Regions from separate parts of the Homo sapiens genome. Here region 2 is linked to region 1. The links are contacts of gene promoters, found by promoter capture Hi-C in human tissues and cell types (Jung and others, 2019). All regions are on one chromosome and are shown on one strand. The core of a region is centred on a gene start or on the middle of the fragment in contact, and the rest is flanking DNA. Distances in the headings are between cores, read along the strand shown. Region 1 holds the start of PPP3CB (protein phosphatase 3 catalytic subunit beta). Region 2 has its middle 17 kb from the start of CHST3.

What was found. The method cuts DNA at HindIII sites, captures the fragments that hold promoters and counts their contacts. A contact is called where the count stands out against the background at its distance.
Region 2: a contact is called between a fragment that was not itself captured here and the fragment with the promoter of PPP3CB in region 1, in 1 of the 25 tissues and cell types used here (dorsolateral prefrontal cortex).

Annotation. Positions count from the first base shown.
Region 1 is chr10:73,494,407-73,497,430 of GRCh38, forward strand. PPP3CB (protein phosphatase 3 catalytic subunit beta) reads right to left here and starts at 1,618. Exons shown (of 14, transcript NM_021132.4): 1 at 1,399-1,618. The coding sequence starts at 1,483. It overlaps PPP3CB-AS1 (PPP3CB antisense RNA 1), which reads left to right and starts at 1,346. Exons shown (of 5, transcript NR_132104.1): 1 at 1,346-1,411; 2 at 1,736-2,077. RefSeq lists enhancers at 685-1,144, 1,635-1,824 and a silencer at 1,205-1,554. The HindIII fragment of the contact is 7,291 bases long and covers 1-3,024 here.
Region 2 is chr10:71,945,404-71,948,419 of GRCh38, forward strand. No RefSeq gene overlaps it. Among named protein-coding and RNA genes, the nearest start is that of CHST3, 17 kb to the right of the region's middle. The HindIII fragment of the contact is 4,623 bases long and covers 1-3,016 here.

The sequences.
Region 1 (3,024 bases), core at 368-2,867:
CCTCCCGATCCGCTGGGACTACAGGGGCGCGCCACCATGCCCGGCTAATTTTTATTTTTTGTATTTTTGGTAGAGAAAAGGTTTCGCCATGTTGCCCAGGCTGGTCTCCAACTCCTGAGTTCAAGCGATCCGCCTGCCTCAGCATCCGAAAGTGCTGGGATTACAGATGTGAGCCACCACGCCAGGCCAAATTAGTATTATTCTTTTAAGAACCGAAGAAGGCTCAGGTTGAAAATTTTTAATTAAAAAAAAAAAAGAAAAAAGGTTTCCTTGTTTTTAAATATTTTAATGGAAACATATGAGTCAGATTTCAAAAAGTAGGCTAACGGTGTTTAAATACTGTGCCAGTGTATTTGAGAAGCTGAATGAAAACAAAAGTACCTATATTTTAAAAATAAATACAATACAAATAAGGAAAAGTTCATTCTACGATTTCAATTTATCAATCAAGCTACATGGTAAAGAGAATCATTTCAATTGTTTTTCACCTCCACAGCAGTGTTTGAGGTTGGTAGGCTCTCCCAGGAAGCTTGGAATCTTAAGCAACTCTCAATTAGCCCTCAATTTCTCTATTTTAAATTAATCTGCTGACCTGTTGTGGGTAAACATCCATAAATTCTGCCCTGGCTGAGAAACATTTAACTTTTTCGTCTAGGATGAATGTGTGGGTGTGTGTTTGTAAGGGAGGGGTAACTCCTTTTGACCAAAGTGTTGATGGTTTTCTAAGTAAATACTTGCTATCCACAAGAATTTTTTTTTTCGTTTATGCTGCTTTTTCTCCCTTTCTGCACTATAAAGGCTGGCCTTCCAATTCCTGCCCCGACCCTTCACCGTGATCCAATCCCACAAGGTTCCCCTAATTTCTGCTCCGGGTGGCACCTGACGGCCAAAAGTGAACCCCTGCGGTTGTCGCCAGCTAGACGCGGATAGGGCGGACGACTGTCACCGGGGAGCAGGCGTGGGCCAAAGCCGAGGTGATTTCTGACTGCTCACTGGCGGGCCTCGCGTGGCTGAAGGTCTCCGAGCCCCTCGGTTCGCCCCGGCAAGCCAGAAGTGCAGCTGTCGCGGGGCAGGAAGCTAATCGCGGCCCCTGCGCCGCTTTGACAGGCCGAGTGAAGAGAAAACGGGCTCACTGCAGCTAACAGCCTCACCCCTTGGGCTAGGAAGCCACGGAAGCAAAACCTCCGCCCCGGCCTGAAAGCAACCGGGAGACCGCGGAACCACTGCCACCGACTCAGCCCTGCCCAGCAGGGGCCCGCCCAGGGGCCACTCCCCAAGGGAGGCAGCCAGTCACTCGCCCGCCCTTCCGGGCCCACTCCCGAGGGGACGGTCTCCCGCCCGCCCTCACACACAGCTAGCTCTTCAGGCCAGGCCCCCAGGGTTTCGTCCACCTCTCACCTTTGACGACGCGGTCAGCCCCGGGAGGGGGCGGCGGGGGCGGGGGTGGGGGCGGTGCAGCCCGGGCCGGCTCCGGGGCGGCCATGCTGGGCCCGGGGCTCGGCTAGGCTCTGGGCCGGGCGGGGTTGGGGGCGGGGGCGGCGGCTACCAGAGCCAAGCGGCGGCGCCGCCGGGGAACATGGCGGACCCTCTTTCCCTACAGAGGGGCTAAGACCGGCATGCACTGCGCGTGCGGGGGTGGGGGCGGGGTAGGCTCTAGGGACTTGGGCAAAATTACTGAAGCTAGGAGAGAAACAGGACGAGGCCAAGGGATCAGGTTAAAATTCTTTGCATGCAGAATGAAGAATGAGGAGGTGCTGCGATCGAACGACTGCGAGGAAACACACCCGCTCTCATGGCATTCCCAGTAAACTGAGAAGACGTGATTAAACCTCAGGATCTCCTACTAATAGAGAAATGTATAACGATTTAGCTACCAGATCTGAATACTGAAGGGTTGGTAGGGGACCAGAGAATAGAGGAAGCATTGTAGGTTCTAGAGTGGAGAAGGGACCATCCAAAATGGAGTTTGAAAGAGAATTCTGGCCTTTGTGTTTAGAGTCTGGAATTGTCAAGAGTCTGAAAGCACAGAATAAGACTGCAGCTAGAGCAATTTAGGCGCCATAGTTTGTCAAAACAGGTAAGGGGAATAAAGGGGATGACACCAAGAGATGTGCAAAGAATCTGAAGAATTCACCTGAAAAGGATACAACCTCCTCCTGGAAGGCAGAGGAGTAAATAGGGAATTGGAAATTAATTCCTTATTTCTGCACATGCACAGAATCTGGGCCCAGGTGACTTATGGAACCTTTATAGAGACCACGGTGACTGACACTCATGGGAAAGGGGGTAGAGGGGCAAGAACTGACTGTTCATCAAAAATTATTAGATGAGTGTGTCCACGACACCAGGAGATATGTTGAATCATGGACAGGGACCAGCATATCCACTAAGCTCTATATATCTTGATGGTGCAGGATCCAAGTGGGATGGAACAACCAATTCCTGCCCATCCTCCTGCTCAATAATACATGTGCTCAGAATCTGTTCATAATGCATGGTGGTAAGTAAGTAGTAGTCCGAAGGTCCAAGGAGTACCTTTCTACCTCTTCTTTGTGTCAATTTCTATCCTGAGACCCCAGGAAAAGAGGAAGGGAAAGACCCAACAATGGATTTTTTCCAAAAAGGGAACCCACAAGCTATTTTTTAGAGGGAAGAGTCTCGGGAGTGAGGCACAGGTGAAAATGGATCTTTCTGGCATGGAAGGGCCATAACACCACAGGGGAAGGGAAAGGGAGAGGCCCCCACGGAAGGAGAGGAAGGAAGGGACAGGAGGCACGTCACAAACTTATAAGATAGAGGGAAGGCACCTGGAGTACATTGATCAGGAGTGAGTCTGTAAGAAGAGCTTGAATCCCCAGAAAATCTTCCTAAGGAGGGGAGGAAGGAAGTGTATAATGTACTGAGTACTGAATGCTCTGTCAGGAAAGGGATGGGAAACATCCTAGCAGCAATACTAGAAAGGAAAGGCACCCTATTTTAGGACCCATTGATTCCCACCTTGATTGTATATCCTTCAACTCGTCT
Region 2 (3,016 bases), core at 420-2,919, 1.5 Mb before region 1:
TTGGGAGGCTGAGGCAGGAGAATGGTGTGAACCTGGGAGGCGGAGCTTGCAGTGAGCCAAGATCGTGCCACTGCACTCCAGCCTGGGTGACAGAGTGAGACTCCATCTCAAAAAAAAAAAAAAGAAATAATCACTAATGAAACTGGCAGAGCTTTGACCGTTTTAGCCAGGCAAGAAACCCTGATGAGAAATGCCATTTATCAGAATAGACTAGCCCTAGGTTACTTGCTAGCAGCTGAAAGAGGAGTTTGTGGGAAATTTAACCTAACCAATTGCTGCCTGCACATAAAGGGCAAGTAGTTAAAAATATAGTTAAAGATATAACAAAGCTGGCACTTGTGCCCGTGCAAGTGTGGCATGGGTTTGATCCTGGGACCATGTTTAGAAAATGGTTTCCAGTGCTAAGAGGATTTAAAACTCTTATAATAGAAATTATAATAGGAACCTGCCTGTTGCTTCCCTGTGTGCTGCCCTTGCTCCTTCAAGTAATAAAAAGTTTTGTTACAACTTAGTCCATCAAAATACTTCAGCACAAGTGTACTACATGAATTGCTATTGATCTGTCTTACAAGAAAACCTAGATAGTGAAGATGAAGATGAGAACTCCCACTAATAAGTGAGGTTCTCAAAGGGGGGACTAAGGGAGGAGACCACGTCTCATATTGTCTTCTGCCTAATTTCTGCCTCAAAGGAAAGAGAAAGTAGGAGTTAAAGAAAAGGCAGAAGTGAAATTCAATAGTCAGACAGCCCATCACCACACCCCAGGCCTAGTAGTTAAAGATTGACCCCTGACCTAATCGCTTATGTTACCTATAGATTCCAGACATTGCATGAGGGAGCATTGTGTAACTCCCTGTTCGGTTCAGTTCTGTTCTGATCACCGGTGCATGCAGCCCCAGTCACGTAGCCCCCGCTTGCACAATGTATCATGACCCTTTCACTTGGACACCTTAGTTAGTTGTAAGCTCTTAAAAGGGACAGGAATCTTGACTTCGGGGAGCTCAGATCTTGAGACACGAGTCTACCAATGCTCCCAGCTGATTAAAGCCTATTCCTTCCTAAAACTGGTGTCCGAGAGGTCTTGTCTAAGACCGGTCCTGCTACAAAATCTTTAATGAACAAAACTTCTGTTTATAAAACCACAGTACAGCTATCACTCAGGAAAGTTAACATTGAGACAATATTATCTATTTTGTCCCTATTCATATTTTACCAATTATCTAAATAGTGTCTTTCACAGTAATCCTTTTTTTCAGTTTCAGGATCTAGTTCAGGATGCATTTAGTTGTTGTATTAGTTAAATTTAGCTGCACAACAAACTTGGTAGCTCAAAACAATATTTGTCATCTCCGTTTCCATGGGTCAGGAATCTAGACATGGCTTAGCTGGGCTCTTGAGCTCAGGGTCTCTCACAAGACTGCAACCAAGGTGTCGGCCACAGTCATCTCAGAATTCAAGTGCAATACGATCTGCTTCCAAGCTCATTCAGTGATTGTTGGCAGGATTCAGGTCACTGCAGACTGTTGGATTTAGGGCTTCAGTTCCTGGCTGGCTGTTGGCTAGGAATTCCTCAGTTCCTTGAAACATGGGCCTCTCCAGAGGGCAGCTCACAATTTGGCAGCTTGCTTCACCAGAACAAGCAAGCTGAGAAGAGCCAGAAAGAGAATTCTAGCAAGATGGAAGTCTCAGTCCTTTGTAACCTAATCTCAGAAGTGATATCTCATCACTGACATCTGCCTATCACATGTTTATGTCTCTAGTCTCTTCTGATCTGGAACAGTTTCTTAGCCTTTTTATTGTCTTTCATGTCCTTGGCATTTTAAATATTGCAGGCTAGTTGTTTTGTAAACATCCTTTGTTTTGTAAACAGTTTGAGTCTGTTTGATGTTTCCTCATAATTCCATTCAAGCAATGCATTTTTTTCAGGAATACCTCACATTCAATGTTGTATTCTTAGTGCATCGCATCAGGAGGTTTGTCCCCTTATTAGTGATAGTAACTTGGATTGCTTGTTTAAAATAGTGCTCAAGCTCTTTCTTTTTATTTTTTTTTTTTTTTGAGACAGGGTCTCACTCTGTCACCCAGGTTGGAGTGCAATGGTGTGATCTTGGCTCACTTCAACCTAGGACTCCTGAGCTCAAGTGGTCCTCCACCTCAGCCTCCCGAGTAGCCGGGACCACAGGCATGCACCACCACACCTGGCTATTTTGTAAATTTTTTTGTAGAGATGGGGTCTTGAGATGTTGTCCAGGTCCCAAACTCCTGTGCTCAAGAGATTCTCCTGCCTCAGCCTCCCAAAGTGCTCAGATTACAGGTATGAGCCATCATCCCCAGGGGCCACTCAAGCTCCCATATTCTTAACCACTATGCAATTCTGCCTCTGGCCAGGAAAGTTCTTTCCATTTTTCAAACAGGGTAGAAAATGAGACTAATTCTCTTGGTTGAGAAACTGTGGGAAGAAATTGAGCCTGGAAACTATTTTAGGACAAAAATTCCCTATGTCCTGGATCAGACCCTCTAGCTCTCATTTGCACTCAAGATACCATCACTGGAGGCCCAAGCATTAGCTGTCATGCCAGTCCACAGCTTGGAGAACGAATGTCCTTTCACACCTGTTTTTTCTTTTTGTTACTGGTTCCTTCATCTGGAAAGCCCTTGGAGGGGCCAGTGGTGCAATGGATAACACATCTGACTACAGATCAGAAGATTCTAGAAAAGCCCTTGTCCCACCTCTACCTGTTCTCTGCCTCTAGAACTCCTGTTCATCTCTCAAGCCCAGGCCAGGGTTCAGCTCCAGAAATAAGGCTGCAGCATTGTACAATTCCAGGGGTGCCTGGCACCCCCTGGAGTTGTGCTAGCCTGTGGTTCTGCTCTGGAAACCCCTCCCCAGCCTCACCTCATGTGCACATTTTCTCATTAGTATTTGTTAAGACGTATGTGTGTCTTCTCTAGACAGAGTAGGACTAAGGCTTGTTTCCCCTGTGGACCCGGCATCCAGTATGTGCTCAACAAGGGG